4 separate regions of the Homo sapiens genome follow, and all the other regions are linked to region 3. Evidence: promoter capture Hi-C in 16 types of primary human blood cells and fetal thymus (Javierre and others, 2016). All regions are on one chromosome and are shown on one strand. The core of a region is centred on a gene start or on the middle of the fragment in contact, and the rest is flanking DNA. Distances in the headings are between cores, read along the strand shown. Region 1 overlaps LOC105377125 (a long non-coding RNA gene). Region 2 overlaps ADAMTS9-AS2 (ADAMTS9 antisense RNA 2). Region 3 holds the start of ADAMTS9 (ADAM metallopeptidase with thrombospondin type 1 motif 9). Region 4 overlaps LINC02040 (long intergenic non-protein coding RNA 2040).

Region 1 (4,532 bases), core at 155-2,654, 420 kb before region 3:
TGAGCCCAGGAGTTCAAGGTTACAGCGAGCAATGATTACACCACTGCACTCCAGCCTAGGCAACAGAGCGAGACCCTGTCTCAAAGAAGAAGTAATATTTGTCATTGCTGGGCTGATGCATAATGGTAAGAATGAGTTTTCCATGAGCCTTCTTACTTTCTTGTGAAGACTGAGGAGGCTCCATCTTCTAAATGTTACATATGCAATGTGATGGAAGCCTGGGTCCCTGAATGACTATATGGATTAGCATTCTTCTCTCATTGTGCATATGAGTGTTATATATGTACCATGAACAAACTATATCTTCCTTGTGTTTAATCACTGAGATTTCAGAATAAGCTAGTTACCACAGCAAAACCAATTATAACCTAATACATGAATCTGTACTTAGGATATTTTTAAAAAATTCAAAGGATTATAGTATATATATTGATCTGCAGCTTATTTTTTTCTCTTAACATTTCTAGACATCAGTCCTTGTCAGTACATATCAACTATCCTGATGTTATAAAGTCATACTCTCAGAACCATATTTTGACATGTTAATAACCATCCACTTAACAAAGAGTCTGACTAAATTTATTTATAAGGTAAATATTGAATATATACATGTCTGTAAGTATGCATCTGTAAACATTTGCCATTTAGTCATTTGTAAATGCATTTACAATAATTATGTATAATTTTGTATGTAAAGTAGTATAACATGACAGGTTCTGAGAGACTTGAAGAGCATTCTCATGAAGAAAAAAAGTTGAAAGACATTTTCTGGAGATTAAAAAAAATTAAGAAGCAGCAAAGAATGTGCCAAAAGGAAAAAGAAAAATAGCCACTTGTCTTTTAGGAAATGTCATAGAAAAGCATCAATTTGTTTATAGAGGATAAAATTTAGTATACCTAAATCTTAAAGTCAGGGGGCATAATAAAAGATGAAAACATAAATATGACAACTACAAAAATGACTGAAAGTATAGCTCATTTTAGTTTTCAAGAGATGATCAAACAATATTTTTACATTTTTAATGAAAATGTTAAGAGGTCAGAGTTCAATTAACCTAGCGATTTTATTCTTGAAGCAGACTCACAGGATAGGAAAACTACATTGAGCTTTTATTTCTATTTCTGTTCTATGAGGTTAGGGAAAGCTTCATCTTTTTTGGAACATTGCATATATATATTTTTTCTTTTTGTTGTTGTTATTTTTTAGCATCTTTGCTTTTCAGTTCCCCTTCATTAAGCTGTGAATGGTTGGAGCTCAATGTAAGATAAGACTAGCTCACAGAATCAATTCTGTGTGGATATTGTTGTGTTTTGGTTGTTCAACCTCATTGTCCTTTCCTAACAGTACCCTGATTTCCTTTCAGGGAACCCCATTTTATGCTGTCTTGGCAAGACAAAGAAAATCCAAGTTGTGCATGGCAGTAAAGGGGAGCCTGGAAGCATCTCTGGCAGTTCCTTTCTTTCCCAATTCTGAAGTGGGAAAAAGTGAGAAAGAAGAGAAAGTGGAAGTAATGATGAAACAAATGTGCAAAGACTGACCCTTACTGATGTGCATCAATGAAAGGAGGACAAAGCAGGCTTCTACCTCCTCTTCTTTTTGTATTTTCTTTCCTCTCTTCTCAGTTTTTCCTATTTCTATTTTTCTTTCTCTTCATAAGCTTTCTTCTCAGTTTTTACACTCCCACATTACATTTCATCTTGGTCTTTGTTTTTCTTCCAATCCTGTAATTTATTTGGTACCCAGGGGATATATCTCAGGAAATCTGTTACCCTATGTCTCTTTGCTGTCTAGTTATTTGACAATGTTTCCTTCTCTAATAAAGTTTTCTCCTTCTTTATGTTCCCTCTCATATGTTATCCCTTCATTATATTAAGATACTCAAAGAAAGGAAAATGCCTTGGCTGTCTTTTCCACCAACCAAGCTGGATGTAATTCCACTGTTTGCTGAGAAAAGAATTGCGTGTGACTCACAGGGTTTATCTTTGTCCGGACGCTCTGTTCATCACGGGTTATGTTGTTTGGCTGTGAAAGATGTATATTATGCCCAAATTATGTCATCTGCCCAAAGATTTGCAACAAAAGCTGGTCCTGGTACCTCCAACTTCTGCACATACTGATTGCTTTGTTTAGTTCTCTGCATCTAATTTTTATATTTTTAAATCCTCTCCACTGAATTTTAGCTGGAGCAGCACAACCCACCATAATTTAAACGGTTTTATCAATTGTGCACAAAAGGCCAAATAGCTCCAAGCACCTTGCAGCTCCCTCAACTGCGACCTCTATTCCTGTCTCTTATTCTTTCCCTACCACTACCCTTCTCCCCAGTACACTCTTCCTTATATTTTATAGTAACAGTACTGTTAGAAAAATAACACATAAAGGCAAATTCTACTGGAAATTGTAAACCACTGGCTGGCCATCAGACCAGTATCACTGGTATTATACAGACATCTATTATTTCCCAGCAGAGGAAACGGATGTTGTCAGAAGTTCTTATTCTGCACCCGCTATAAAGACAATGAGATTATACAAATGCATAGACTCAAGAAATATGATCAATGCCCTTGTGGTTTCTGTGATCGGTTTCTGTGATGAATGGCAAGCTGCTAAGAAGGATCATTTAAAGTGGAGGGAGGAAACCTCAGGGTTATATAAGATGGTGCTTTTTAAAGTCAGCTTTGAGTATTTCCTTGTGCGTTTCATGAATCTGATTATTAGCACTGCTCATGATGATATAGTGTGGCTATCTCAGAGAAATATTGGGGCACATTATTATTTGATTGAAATAAATGGGAAGAAAGAAAACTATACTCAAAATATCATTCTTTTTATACCAGAAAGAAGTTCAAGATGACCCGGTCCAACTCCCTTATTCTTCAATATAGAAGCTGAGTCTCAGAGAAATTAAAAGTCTTGCTCATGTCACATAAGCATTTCTAGACAAAATCTGCTCCAGGATCAAGATCTCTGGTCTCTAAGATTGGTGCCCTTGTCACCTCTTTGAAATTCATAAATATGTAATTTTTCTCTCATGCTAATTCTCGTGATAATTTTTGTATTTCTCTGCATCGCTAGGTCATTTTTGATAGTTGTAACAAATTCAACAAATATATATTCATTAACAATTTTCCTTTTTTTTTTTTCTGAGACAGAGTCTTGCTCTGTCACCGAGGCTGGAGTGCAGTGGCACAATCTTGGCTCACTGCAACCTCTGCCTCCCAGGTTCAAGCAATTGTCCTGCCTCAGCTTCACCAGTAGCTTGGATTACAGGTGCCTGCCACCATACCCAGTTAATTTTTGTATTTTTAGTAGAGATGAGGTTTCACCATGTTGGGCAGGCTGGTCTCAAACTCCTGACCTCAAGTGATCCGCCTGCCTCAGCCTCCCAAAGTGCTAGGATTACAGGCGTGAGGCCAACACCTTTACTTTTTAAAGCTTATATGCAAAGAATTATGCCTGTGTCTTGAATAGCAGTGGGGGTAGCACAGTTATGTTAGTTTTCTGTTGCTGCTATTACAAATAGTGAGAAACCAGGTGACTTAAAATCGTTCTTTTTTTTCTTTTTTTTTTTTTTATTATCTTACAGTTCTGCAGGTTAGAAATCTCACAATAGTGGTAAAAAGTTTTGGGATTTAGAGCTCACCTGGCTCAGTTTGAATGACAGCTGTGTGATTTTAGACAACTCACTTAACTATTCTGATTCAGTTTCCTTTCCGTAAAATGTGAGTATTGATAGTACCTGCCCCTTAGGGTTGCTGTGAAAATTATAGAAGTTGATTCACATTTTACATATAGAGCAGTGCCTGGTACATTGTAAGTGTGTGCGTGGGTGTATGTGTGTGTGTGAGAGAGAGAGAGAGAGACAGAGAGAGAAAGTCTTACTGCTATAATAGTTCTTACTCTAAAACTTGAACAACAGAATTCCTATTTGGGAGCTTACAGTTGAATTGTCAAGAAACAATATGAATCATCTGAGTATTTGAATGGTTTCAATAAGATGAGTGGGCTTGGTGTACAAGAGAAGGCAGGACTTTTTGAGCAGGGGGCAGCACAAGAAAGGCTTATATCCAAAAGGAAAGTTGAATCCAAATATGGTTTATCCAGCAAGCAAGCTGGACAAGTGTTGCAAATAGACCTAAACCCGTTTATTTGTTCACATGTGTCAAGGTCTTTCAGCAAACATGGTTAGCCCCTAATAATGAGAGCTGGGTGCAAGCTAGATGTTCCCTTCCCTGTGTATAAACTTTTCTGCCAAGTGGTACGTTCATGAGAGCAAGGCTCAAACCAATTTCTGCCACACTTCCAAAGGTTATTCACAAGTCTCTGTAATCCAATGGCCGACTCTGCTCTCTGTTGTTTCAGGTTCTCCAATATCATATATGAAAGGGTCAGTTGGAGACAGATGTGGCTATGATCTGAGGTAGCAGTAACCTAATTGCATCAGGCAGCAGGAATATCCACAATGTGCGCCTACACAAGACTGAATGACACCACTGTGGCAGCATCATTAGGCTCCTGGCTCACCAGATTC
Region 2 (4,520 bases), core at 1,428-3,927, 310 kb before region 3:
GATAATTCCACGAGGAGGCACAAATGAAGGCATATAAGTTTAAGTGAGATTGGACACAGCTCTCCCTCCTACCCTGAACTTGCTCTGAACCACTTGACTGGAACATCTCCTGTCCATCCTGGATGCACTGCCCGTTGCAAATCTCCATTGTTGTTTTGATGTGAACTTTGTGTCCGATTCCATATCATCACTCCCCGGGATATTTCTACCCAGGTTGAAAACACACATCCCACTTCCAGGCAGCTGCTTCATGTTTCCTGGATGGCCCAGTAATGTGTTTGTTTAGCTCACTTCTAGTTAGGCTATAGATTTTGCCAGTGGCCTTTTAAACACCGGCCTCAGAATGTTTGTTTTTTTAAGTTTTTGTCTTATCTCACTTCCTCTCAAAAGGCCTCACTTTTCACAGCTTGGCTGAAGCCTGAATAAGCAGCTCTTCTGTGAGCTCTGCCTAGATATCTTGCCAAAATGTGGGGCTAAACTATTTGCAGTTTGAAAATCATAACCATTCTGCATTGTAGTATTTCATCAAATGGCCAAGAGAACAATCCAAGATCGTGGACAAGAGTACAGTAAACTGCCTTAGCAGTGGTCTGTCTCTCCACACCCCGGTCTTACAAGTGCATAGCTGTGTGCAGTGTGCTGATTCTCAAATGCATGGGAAGCCCCTGGGGAACTTGTTGAACTGCAAATTCTCCGTCCACATCCTCAGAGATTCAGACTCAAAACAGCTGCAGGGGGTGGGGGGTGGGGTGTTGCACGGAGCGGGGCTGGAACTCTGTCTTTTTAACAAACACTCCCCTCATCGTTTTGATGAAGTGGTTTGTAGATGTGAACATTGAAGAAAACCCCAGTAAACTGGTAAAAATTGGACACTTCAATGTCTCAGATCTGGCTTTGATTCCTAGCTAGGCCACTGCCTAGTTGAGTAAAACTTCTGAACTCCAGTTTCTTTCAAAAGTTGATGAAATGAAAACATTTGTGAGAATTCAATGGGCTTGACACAATGTGAACATTTAATAAATGGTAGCTTTTATTTTTAAATCATTGTTTTCTAAAGAAACACAAAAGAAAGGACCATAGCTACAAACTTATTAATAGTCTTCTATGAGGAGAAATTGGTCTTTAGTTTGTAAATATAAAGGGAAAACTTGAACAAAAGCATGAAGGATAGAAAGCAAATGTCTAGCTCTGTTATTCTGATGATATACAGCACATATCTGGAGAGGGTGGTACCCTCTCCAGCCTCATCTCCAGTCGGTATCCTTCTGGAGGTGTCTTGATTTCCTTTCCTCAGGGAAGTGGCCTTCCTGACCCCTACGTTAAATACACAGCGCCAGTTCCTTCTTCCTGATGCCTTCATTATGTGTTATTGTTAATTACTAGTTGATGTCTGTCTTCCTGCTAGTCTGAGCTCCACCAAAGGATGGGGTCTTGTTGCCTATACATAGCCTTATTTCCAAGGTACATAGTATGAGACTGATACGTATATTTTGTGAGAACAAATAATCGTAAGAATTTTTTTTTTTAATTCAATTATGGAATGGAAAGTCTTGGGGGATACTGCCTTACTTGTCACAGCTGATCCATTCAAAAGGACCACTTGGATATCTTGCCAAGGAAATCAGTGAACGCAGTGACTCTTAAGTTTTTTTTCCCAACTGGCCAAATCGTTTTCTGGAGCACCTAAAGGAAATCTTGGGCAGTTTCTTGAAGAAGGACAAAGTCCTAATCAAGAGCTCTGTTTTGCAATTTGCATGGAGCTAGACAAATTGCACAAGGAAACACCAGATGACAACATCAATTTTAATTAGGTCTCAGTGAAACACCTGAAGGTACTATTTAAATGATGTACTGCTTCAGCCCACAGGACCTCCAAACGGTGAAAGGGAGAATTAATGGGGTAGGGACAGAATGATTTTATTTATCAATCTAGTCACAGCTCTGCTGTATTCAAATGTTTTTTTCCTTATTCGTATGGAGAAATTTTAACTGGGCATTAATATCCCCATAGAGGAAAGGTGATTCGCCAGCTGAAAGAATTAAGCATTCTACCAGACCTAGTCTCAAAAGTTGGAGAAACTGCAAAAATCACACATTATTTCAAGTCCGGAAAAGCTGAGCTAATATTTTTTTTCTCCATTGTCTTTCCTTTTCTGGTTCTGGCCCCAAACAGAAAGCCCCTTTTATACCCTTTTAAATGTGTTTCTAGGGGGAAAAAGATACTTTCCAAGTGGAAGTAGAAAACAGAAAATAAATGCAAAATTCTATTTCTTTGGCATGTAGACTTCATATGAATTCTGCTCAGATGGCTGGAGTTTCCATTACTGCAAAATAAAGGGCTACCTGGAAGCTTAGAAAAAGTGAGATTAAGAGGCTACATGATTCTTAGCCCTATGTTCTTAATCAATTTAGTTGTTATTACAACTTAACTAGACTTCATCAACAGAACAATCCCTGTTACTGAATATTTATATTCCATTTTCAAAGAAAATCAGCAAAGTAACAAGAAATCACAGTTAGATGTAAAGCGAGTATACATGTCTAAAATATATCTTCATTTATTTGGCAAAGTCATGAAGCTGCCATTTTAAAGAGAATTCTGCATGTTCCTCTATTCATTTACTTGAGACTATTTGTTTTCTTTCTTCTGAGAAAAGAAAAATACACTGAAAACGAAGACAAACTATTTTCTGGCGAAGTGCTAACTGCTCCAGCTGCAGACTGCCTCTGAGTTCCGGGAAGTCATTTTGCAAAGGCTTTGGACTCAGGTGGATGAAAGCCCCTGAATAGCCCATTAGTAGTTTCAGCTTTATCAGGCCGATCGCTTGCCATAAGTAAAAGAAAAAAGCCAGTGTGGGGACAACCATATCATCAGGTGGGAGAGGATCAGAACCCATTCTACACCACACATTCAGTGAAGCGTGGGTGCAGCAGTGAGAGAGAGATTACTGTAGCAATTTGCAAAGCGTATTCCTCAGGTGATATTCTATGGTCGAAAAGCTTTGGCGCAATAATTCTATGCTATTTCTGCTTGTGGAAAGTCGCAATATATTTTTATCAGTTACAGGCCCTAGGAATTCCTGAAATGACATATACCTTTTAAAAAACTTGGTTTTCCCCAAATTCATCTGACTCCTCTTTATTTTATAGCACACGTATTAACAGTAACGGGCCTTCCACAGAAAAATAGTACCTTGAGCTATAAGCCCCTCTCCAACTCCCACCCCCTGGCCCTTGTTTTTTTTTTTTGTTGTTTTTTTTTTTTTTTTTTTGGACTTTATTTAATGAGAGGATGACCTATGGTAGTTCTAATGCTTCCTAGTTCTTTATATGTCTTTTTACATGGAAAAGGATAATAAAAATCATAGTAGTTGCATGCTAATGGCTATTAACTTCTTTTTCCCACTTAATGTTTTCTTACTTTCTTTACCTGCTATAAAAATATTCTGTCAATTCCTCTATTTTACTAATTTATGAAGTGCCTGCTGTCAGAAGTGCTGGCCCAGAGTGCTGTCAGAAGTGCTGGCCCATTACCTCTAGGGCTGAGGGGATCAATAGCATAGGGAAAACCAGCATACCATGGCTCAGCAGTTGGGAAATTCCACCCTGAGGAGCTAACAGGTATGCAGCGGTTGAACCCACCTGGCTATTGGGAATGTGTGTGTGCTGACTCTGGAGTCCTCTCCACTCACCATCGTTTGTTGTCTTCACGTACCTACTTTTTCCGAGTGTGAGATCAGATGTGAGCACTATGATTGGTGCCTTTTGTTTCACTGCCCACCCCACCCAAAACACTTTACAGGGTTCTGGTACTGTATCATTCAAATGACTACCCTCATTTCCTGTTTTAGGTACATTTCATTTTTCCTGTCTTGGTTTCTATAAGAGGCAGCAGAACAGATGCAGGAGAACTGGGGGATGATCTACCAGCAATCCCTGCAACATGTGGAGGATTTTCACTTCCTTTCAGTTTGGAGCAGGCTGTTCTCAGAGGATCCCTTCACCTTCCCCCACCCCACTGCCCTACTTACTTCCAAAGCAGACAGCCAGAATTTGATTTCACTATCGGAGCTACGCCTGCTGGGAAAGGGGAACCAAGTGGGTGGCCACTGTTAGGGAAAAGTTATATTCAAATGGGCTCATCGGAGCTGGTAGGATTCCAGGTGTTTTCCAGATAGACATATTAACGAATACCACATTTCTTATTTCCATTTTGAGATCTCTAGGCTCTTTTTTCCTTATTGTTTCCCAGTAGAATATATTGTCTCCTTTTATTTCCTTCAAAAGTAATCCATATTCATTGCTCAGAATTAAAACTATACAAACGAGCAAAACAAAACAAAAATTGCTCATAAAGTCACCACCCAAATAGAATCATAGTTAACATTATAATGTGTTTCTCCCAATCTTTTTTCATGCATTAGCATTCAAAGTTTGTTTTAAAACATTGAAATATTTGTGCATAATGTATGATAAACATCATCTCCCACCTAAATATATATCTCAATTATCTTTAGAAG
Region 3 (4,433 bases), core at 1,527-4,026:
CCTAGTCTTAATAAATACTTATTGACTACCTACTATGTGCCAGATCTCTTCTAACTGCTGAGGGAAAAGCTGTGAAATATCAATGAAATCGCTGACATGATTTTCATTAAATACTTTGCATGAGAAGAATAAGAGAGAGCTAAAGAAAAGTTATACATGCAATAAAAGCTTGAGGCAATTCTCTGAATGATTTTAGCCATTTTCCCACAAAGCAACCCTCCAAAAATCTAGCAGTGCTTCTGATTAATCAGTTATTCATGACATATGATAATAGTTATGAACTTGGATTGAACGACTGAAACGGAGTTTGAATCGTGTCTCTCACTTACTGGATTGAGGGGGGTCAAATTATTTCACTTATTCAGATCTCGGTATCCTTATTGGTAAAATGAGATTACTGACACTGACTTCCTGAAAGAGCTGTTTTGAGAATTAAATTAAATGCTATATGTTACCCCATGGTAAGTACTGAATAAGAGTACTTATTTAGACAAAGAGTAATTATTCAGACAAAAGATTTTTGCCTGACTTGCTTAGTTAGCTCAACTGTCTTTTTCATGTCTCACGATTTAAAAGACATTTTCCTAAGATTCTTTAAGACTTTTTTACAGATGTAAATGCAGAAGCCAGCTAATACACTGAAGAAAAGATGGGTAGACTCACTAAGGATGAGAAATTCATAAACCTAGGTTCTTGGTCACCTCAGGAGTTCACCAAGAGATATTTTGTATCTTTCTGGCCTATCAGCTCTTGTGGATCAATTTTTTAAAACTGTAGACAAAGTTCATTCTTCAAGCAAAGTCCTAGAAAGAAAGCAAAGGAGAGAGAGTACACAAAGGAGGCTTCTGTCCCTACATATCGTAATTTCTATACCATTAGTTAACTTCTCTTTGTCAGGAAGGATTTGAACTGAAAGAGAAAAAAAGATTTAATGGGAAATACTGGAAAGTGCTATATTTTTGAGTAATTTTACAATGGAAGTACTGGAATATTTTCCACAGGAATCAGCCAATAGATTGATTTCTTGATATTTTTCTGTTCCTTACTAAATTTTCAGCAACTCCCAGACACTGTGATTGTGGGGAATGTTGTTATAATAAAAAGAAAGATTGTGTATTAGAAGAAACGTATTTTAGTGAATTAATTTGGAGGTTCAAGGTTTAAATGCCATTCTCTAAAAATCTCTAATTGTGCACAATACAGATGTTATTTTTCCATCCTTACATTTTACATATCCATTATGAAATTCCAGTAATAAGACGATGGTAACATTATCAATTTGGGTTAACAATTATTTAGCAAATTCGTCTTGCCAAGTCATTTTTACCCTTCACCAGAAGAAATATATGTATTAGTATCTCAAGAATAGTTGACATTGCTAGCATATTGCGATTTGGTTCCTGGTGTTGGCAATCTTTGGTATTTCTAGTCCTGAGTGCTAACCTACCACGCAACAGAACCTCAACCCCCGTTCTAGGATACTTGGGCAAATATATATTTATTAGTCATATATTTATATATTTTTAACGATATTGTCATGTCTTTCCTCTTGAAATTATCTTGAAATTCTATCTTCCTGAGGGCTGGTTAAAGAAAAGGCGCCACTGAACCACCCAAGATTGAACAATTCACACACACACACACACACACACACACACACACACACACGAAGGTGTAGCTTGAAGCGCCTGCTTTCAGTCTTTCCCAGTCTTTCCAAGCATCTCTCAGGCTGAAAGCAAGCGGAAGTGATTGAGAAATCCCTCCAGGGACTGGTGCCTCCCACAGGGATCTACAACTTTACACTCCATCCCCCCTTCCCCTCCCATCTCTAAACCCCCTGGTAGTGAGGGGCGCCAGAGTCCCCGCCCCTTCTTGCTGCCAAAATTTGTTCTTAACCTTTTTTGGGGCAGGGGACCTACAGAATGCTATGGACCCTCCATGAATGGTGACAGAGGTTGGTGGAAAGCACAGCTTAAATATTTTGCGAAATTTTCAAGAGACCACGTATTAGAAACACACTCCGACCTGCAGGATTAAGAACCCCATTTCTAAAACTCTTGACTTGGGGTGATTAAATCGAGAGCGGAGCTCAGGTGCCAAATCTCTTCCCGAATGAAAAAGTGTAGGAAGGGAAGGCGCTCCGGCGCTGGGCCACTTTCACTTGTAAGAAACCAAAAGATGGGGACTGGTGGCAAGAGATGGGGACGGAAGAGAAAGGAAAGGAAAAGGAGAAATGTGAGAAACAGACAGGGACACGGTGGGGCGGGGAGAAGACAGACATCACAGGGGAAAATGGGGAGAAGGGACAGAGTCCGAGAGGCACAGCAGCAGAGAGACAAGGGGGAGGAGGAAAAAGAGACTCGGAAGGGAGGAGAGAGAGGAGAGGAGAGGAAAAAGACGAGAGGGGAAGTGGCTGCACGCGCGCCAGGAAAGGGAGAGAACTTTCCCTGCTTTCCCTCCCCGGGGCAGGGAATCTCAGAAAACCCCACTTCAGCGAGGTGGCGGGGACCAGGAACAGCTGCCCCGGCGCTGGTGACGCCTCTGGCCTCCGCCTCTTGCAGCCGGCAGGGCCTCCGGCTGCGAGTCCCGCACGGGCCGGCCGAGGAGGGGACATGGTCTGGAAGGAGGCGGTCCCCGTTCGTCTCGCTTTCTCCTCCCCTCTCCTCCTCTTAGAGGCGTGCACCGGGGGCATTTGAGAGGCTGTGGACCCGCGGCCCCCCCGCCTCCGCCCCCCCAGCCCCCCATTCAAGAAGCCGCTCAGCTATCCCGGCCAGCACAGGGCGCCCGGCGCGCCTCGGAGCGCAAGTTCCTCGCCTTCTCCTGCCCGCTCGCTGGGCATTATGCGGCCAAGCAGCCGAGCCCCAGTCCTCCTCCTCCTCCTGCTCCTCCGGCTCCTCCTGCGGCCCGAGCGGCTCAGCTCTCGGCAGGCGGCGGCGTTGCTCAGCCGAGCGCAGACGGGACCCTCGCAGCGAGACCTCAGCGACTCCTAAAGTCAAAAGTTGGCGGCGGGCGCCGGGCTCCGCGCGCTCTCCACGGCCGCTGCCTCGCGTCGCCGCCGCAGCCAAGGAGGGCAGGAGGGAGGGGGGTGGGGGCAGCGGAGGGAGGGGTGGGAAGCACCATGCAGTTTGTATCCTGGGCCACACTGCTAACGCTCCTGGTGCGGGACCTGGCCGAGATGGGGAGCCCAGACGCCGCGGCGGCCGTGCGCAAGGACAGGCTGCACCCGAGGCAAGGTAACCAGGCTCCGGCCCCCGGGACCCCGCCGGCCCCGACGCCGCCTCCCGGTCCTCGCTCCTGGGCAGGGGCACCCCGCAGCGGAGGCTTCTCTCCTTTTCCTAGAAAGAATTATCTCCCGCTTTGCAGCCTCTCCCTTCTTTGGGTCATCCCCAACCAATTGCTAGGGAGGGACACTATGGAAACGAATTTAGGCAACCCCCCCCTACCTTGCTGTTGCCAGATATATCCCCATCCCCACTCCCACGCCGCAAACTAAAGTAACTTAGTAATTGGGGGCACCAGATAGCGTCATGTTTTATTTTATTCAGGTTATTTATCAATATCTGAAATCATATATATTTTGACTTGTTAATTGTCTGGCTCGGAATAGTGTATCCTCAGCACCTAGCACAGGTCCTGTTACTGGCACATAGTAGGTGCTCAGCAAATATTTGTCCACTGATTAAGGGTGAAGGGATTGACTCGAATGGGCTGGAAAATAAGGTCAGAACAAAGTCCCCACCTTCGTTTTAAATTAAAGCTTAAGGAAAAATGAATTATTGGTTCATATACCTCTGCTTCTCTCCGCAGTGAAATTATTAGAGACCCTGAGCGAATACGAAATCGTGTCTCCCATCCGAGTGAACGCTCTCGGAGAACCCTTTCCCACGAACGTCCACTTCAAAAGAACGCGACGGAGCATTAACTCTGCCACTGACCCCTGGCCTGCCTTCGCCTCCTCCTCTTCCTCCTCTACCTCCTCCCAGGCGCATTACCGCCTCTCTGCCTTCGGCCAGCAGTTTCTATTTAATCTCACCGCCAATGCCGGATTTATCGCTCCACTGTTCACTGTCACCCTCCTCGGGACGCCCGGGGTGAATCAGACCAAGTTTTATTCCGAAGAGGAAGCGGAACTCAAGCACTGTTTCTACAAAGGCTATGTCAATACCAACTCCGAGCACACGGCCGTCATCAGCCTCTGCTCAGGAATGGTAAGTGGGCGCGCGCCACCTCCTCTCCCCTTCCGCCTCCTCGCCCGCTTCTAGAAGACTTAATTGTCCTCTAAGCCTAGAGACCCTCACTGTGGCGAGGCTCCGCTCCTCTCCGGCGTTAAATATCAGCTAGAAACTCGTATGGTTTGGGTAGCTAGCTCTGTGCGTGCGAGTACACTGGCGTGGAGCGCACACACCCGCCCCCAGGGGCTTCTGGATGTTTCA
Region 4 (4,023 bases), core at 462-2,961, 490 kb before region 3:
TTATGAGTCAAGATTCTGATGTCTCCACAGTGGGAAAAATCAGACAAGCTGACTTTACACAATTCTCACTTACCTGGGCTTCATTCTGTCTGGGTTTGCAGTGTACTCTACCACCTTCACTTAACGGTGGCCTTATTGTGCCTGTTGGCTTGGGTTAGATCTTGTTATGTACACTTTTTATAGAGCTAGACACTATCTTTGAAACAAGAGCATGCAATACGAGGCATGAAAAGAAGACTTTGTAGCTGGGGTGAGACTGGAATGAAATTTAGAAAGAGGCTGTAGTGAGAATTGTCCATAACTGTGACAACAGCATGGATCACGTGATATATATTATTGAGTGCCTGGTACTTGCCAGGCATTGCACCAAGTGCACATAATATATGTTATCTGCATTTACTCCTCACAATAGTCTGTGAGATGGGTATTATTCTCCCCACCTTATGCATGAGGAAGCTGATGTATACAGAGGTAAATTGTCCACGGTCATGCAGCCAGTACTAGTGTTTCTGATCACAAAGCTATTTTTGCTTCCACAATGGCAAATGGCATCTTTCACAGCCACTAGCATGTCTCTGTTCCTTCCTCAAAAATAAATCCTTAAATTATTGTTTCAATTATCATTTTACTTATACTACGTGATAAAGAAATTAAATTTTTTTCTTTTTGTGAGCTTTCAGACTCCTTTGGAGAGAAAGAATCTTTTCCCTCTTATTATAAAAACTCTTCGTTGAAATGTCTGTGTTCCTTCAGCTGCCCCTGGGGATTCATGTTCCTGAGTTGGACTGGCAGAGAATGTGATGTTTCTCCACGAGGGACTCTGGGAGTAGTCTGATCATTGTGAAATGATTTCAGTAGTCACTGAAACAGAGTGGCTGGAAGACTTTGGAATCTGACAAATTCACACCCTTTTTTATTTACCTGCCACTGTGGCTTACTCTGGGTATTCCCAGGCAACATGGCTGATGTCCCGGTTACTCTGGTAACTGTAAGGAACTGAGAGGCTTTCTTGCTTTGTGTCTTTCTAGCCTGTCCTTCAGGCAGCATCGGCGGCTACCACTACAGGAAGAGCTAGTCTTTGTCAGAGAACTGGGCTCTTTTTTGGCCTTGTAAGAAATCACAGCCATGTTACTGGGACAGCCCCTCTGTCTTTGCCTGCGTCTTGCCAGAAATTCCTAACTGATTGTCAGCAGTTATGCTGTGTTCCTTCCAACTGGACATTCCCATTTAAATGTATTGTCACTGCAGCCAGGGTCATTTGCAGCTTGTTTTTAGCATGGTACCTTTCCCCCATGGGTCTTCTATACCCCTTGTCCACTCTCATGTTGGTCCTGAGAAAGTTACCCTTTTTCACTCTGATGTTTAACACACACTCTCAGGGATTACGGTGTTTACAATGTCACTTTCAGCACTGCATTTTTCTTTTAGTTTATTCCTCAATGAATGATAATGCATTTTTAAAAAAATCACTCTTTTTCTTACACAAATAATAATAATGTTAATTTTAGAAAATCAAATAGAAAAAAATTAAAATTGCCTACAATTAAAGTGGCCAGAGATTACTAGCGTCAACATGCTGGTGTCTTCTCTTCCTATTGGCATGCGTTCTGTATTTTATGGGTAGAGGTACACATACAGCTATGTAGTTATGAACACTTATTTTCAAAATTTGGGAAGAAACACAGCACATTTAAAAATTTTGGCCTGGCATGGTGGCTCATACCTGCAATCCCAGCACTTTGCGAGGGCTAGGTGGGAGGATCGCTTGAGGCCAGGAGCTTGAGACCAGCTTGGGCAACATAGGAAGACTCTGTGTCTACAAAATATTTAAAAGTTAGCTGGATGTGGTGATGTGAACCTGTGGTCCCAGCTAGTCAGGAGGCTGAAGAGGGAGGATTGCTTAAGCCTGGGAGGTTCAGGCTACAGTGAGACATGATTGTACCACTGTACTCCAGTCTGGGTGACAGAGCAAGACCCTGTCTCTCAAAAAAACAAAAAACAAAACAAAACAAAACAAAACAAAAACAAACAAACAAAAAAAACCCCGAATCCCCCAAACTGGCTGTGGTTTTAGCTGATCTTCCAAGGAAGATGAATACATTTCTGTTTGAGGTAATTGTTGTTTTGTTTGGGCCAACACTTATGTTTCCCTTGATAAAAAGCTATAATGTGTATATATTATAGTATACAAATATTAGTGTAGAATTTGAGAAATTCTTACATATGTATATACACCTATATAACCACAACCAAGATCAAGATATAGAATATATTCAGACCCTATCCCTAGAAGGTTCCCTCATGACCCTTCCCAGTCAGTAACCCCTTTTCCCTAAGAGGAAACCACTGTTATAACTTCTATCACCATAGATTAGTTTTGTTAGCTCTTGAACTTCAGGTACATGGAATCACACATTCTTTTGTGTCTGATGCTTTTGCTTAATATTGTGTCTGTGAAAGTCACCCTTGTTGTTGAGCTTAATGGTAGCCCTTTTTTTTTTATTACTGCATAGTATTCCTTGTCTCAGTATACTACAGTTTATTTTGTTGATGGAGATTTGAATTGTTTCCTGTTTTAGGCTCTTACCTACAAGAATGACGTTCTAAGGCTGAGGCCTTTGCTGTGATTGCATCGTCTCCCAACTTCTTCCTCTGGCCTTCCCTTTCCCCACCACTGTCAATCTTGAAGAACTCCCTAATAATCTTTTCTCATGCTAATAATCTCCATCTCACAGTCTACTTCTTGACCTGACCTGCAACAACAGCCCTGATGGATTTATTTTATCAAATTGGCTATGGTGTTTTACTTTGCTCTAAGACTTAGAAATTCTGAACCTTATGAGTCAAGTTTTCGTAAGGCCCTGAACACAAAAGAGATAAAAACTGGCATGCTAGGTGCACTGTCAGAGTGAATGTCATAATCAAAGGTGATTTTCTAAACATGAATGAACATTTTGTAGGTTTCTAGGCAAAAATTTCATGTAAAATGAGAAAAGTGGTGTATTAGGAGGTATAATCTGGCTTTGTATGTACGAAATGAATTGGAGAAGAAACCTGTTAGACAAGTACAATTGTTCCAACATAAGGAAACAATAAGGAAGAAGGGATGCGAGAGCCTTGGTGGAGAGAGGAGGAACAGGTTGAGGGCACTGTGGCTGTGTGTGGAATTGTCAGTGTGGAAAGTGGAGAAGTTAATGATAACACCAATGCTCTGAATCCAGATGGCCAATGTAGCATTTCTCATTCCATTCATTTGAGCTTTGGGGAAGAAGAAAAGAGTGTAAAGGAGCAAACTTTTGAAAAATATAGATGTCAGGAGGAAATACTGGTGTGTGGTTAAGGAGATGCAGAGTTCAGTTTTAGAGCTGGTGGAATGATAAGAAAAGGATGCATCAAAGAATAGGAGAGGTGAGCCTTTTGTGTAAGGAAGGAATTAAAACAAAAGAGATAAAGATTGGGGCAGCAGGGTTATATCTTGTATTAGTTATCTATTGCTGTACAACCAATTACCCTAAAATGTAGCAACTTAAAATGACTACATATTTACGATTTCACAGATTCTGTGGATCAGGAAACCAGGTGCCACGTATAGCTGGGTCCTCTAGCTTTGGGTCTCTCACAGGGCTATAGTCATCTCAAGGCTTGCCTGGGGAGGATTCGCTTCTAAGAACACTCATGTGTTTGTTGGCAGGCTTCCAATCCTTGTGGGTTGTTGGAGTGAGTTTCAGCTCCTCATAAGCTGTAAACCACCCTTGGTTTCTTGCCACGTGGGCATCTCCATCGGGCAACTCACAACATGGCAGCAAGCAAGCAAGAGGGTAAGAGAGACTGCCAGCAACAGAGACAGAAAGCCAGCGAGATGCAGGTAAGACTGCAACCACATCATGGAAATGACATCTCATCACCTGTGCTATGTTCCGTTTGTTAAAACTGAGTCAGTAGGTTCTGTGCACAAAGGAAGGGGATTCCACAGGTGCCTGCGTACCAGGAGGCAGAGGTCGCTAGGAGCCCTGTCAGAGCTGC

What was found. Contacts are between HindIII fragments. The CHiCAGO score rates a contact against its expected background, and 5 or more counts as called.
Region 1: a fragment that was not itself captured here is called in contact with the fragment with the promoter of ADAMTS9 in region 3 in 1 of 17 cell types (endothelial precursors); the score reaches 6.0 in endothelial precursors.
Region 2: a fragment that was not itself captured here is called in contact with the fragment with the promoter of ADAMTS9 in region 3 in 1 of 17 cell types (endothelial precursors); the score reaches 5.4 in endothelial precursors.
Region 4: a fragment that was not itself captured here is called in contact with the fragment with the promoter of ADAMTS9 in region 3 in 1 of 17 cell types (endothelial precursors); the score reaches 7.0 in endothelial precursors.

What each region holds. Positions count from the first base shown.
Region 1 is chr3:65,104,858-65,109,389 of GRCh38, reverse strand. It overlaps LOC105377125 (a long non-coding RNA gene), which reads left to right. Exons shown (of 3, transcript XR_940925.3): 2 at 468-590; 3 at 1,365-1,838. It overlaps LOC107986017 (a long non-coding RNA gene), which reads left to right and starts at 3,594. Exons shown (of 3, transcript XR_001740438.2): 1 at 3,594-3,723; 2 at 4,364-4,532. The HindIII fragment of the contact is 513 bases long and covers 1,148-1,660 here.
Region 2 is chr3:64,992,172-64,996,691 of GRCh38, reverse strand. All of the region lies in intron 4 of ADAMTS9-AS2 (ADAMTS9 antisense RNA 2), which reads right to left. Among named protein-coding and RNA genes, the nearest start is that of LINC02040, 180 kb to the left of the region's middle. The HindIII fragment of the contact is 650 bases long and covers 2,353-3,002 here.
Region 3 is chr3:64,686,343-64,690,775 of GRCh38, reverse strand. It overlaps ADAMTS9 (ADAM metallopeptidase with thrombospondin type 1 motif 9), which reads left to right and starts at 2,776. Exons shown (of 40, transcript NM_182920.2): 1 at 2,776-3,233; 2 at 3,808-4,208. The coding sequence starts at 3,119. All of the region lies in intron 1 of ADAMTS9-AS2 (ADAMTS9 antisense RNA 2), which reads right to left. The HindIII fragment of the contact is 3,589 bases long and covers 171-3,759 here.
Region 4 is chr3:65,178,573-65,182,595 of GRCh38, reverse strand. All of the region lies in intron 1 of LINC02040 (long intergenic non-protein coding RNA 2040), which reads right to left. It overlaps LOC105377127 (a long non-coding RNA gene), which reads left to right and starts at 3,617. Exons shown (of 4, transcript XR_001740736.1): 1 at 3,617-3,865. The HindIII fragment of the contact is 6,152 bases long and covers 1-4,023 here.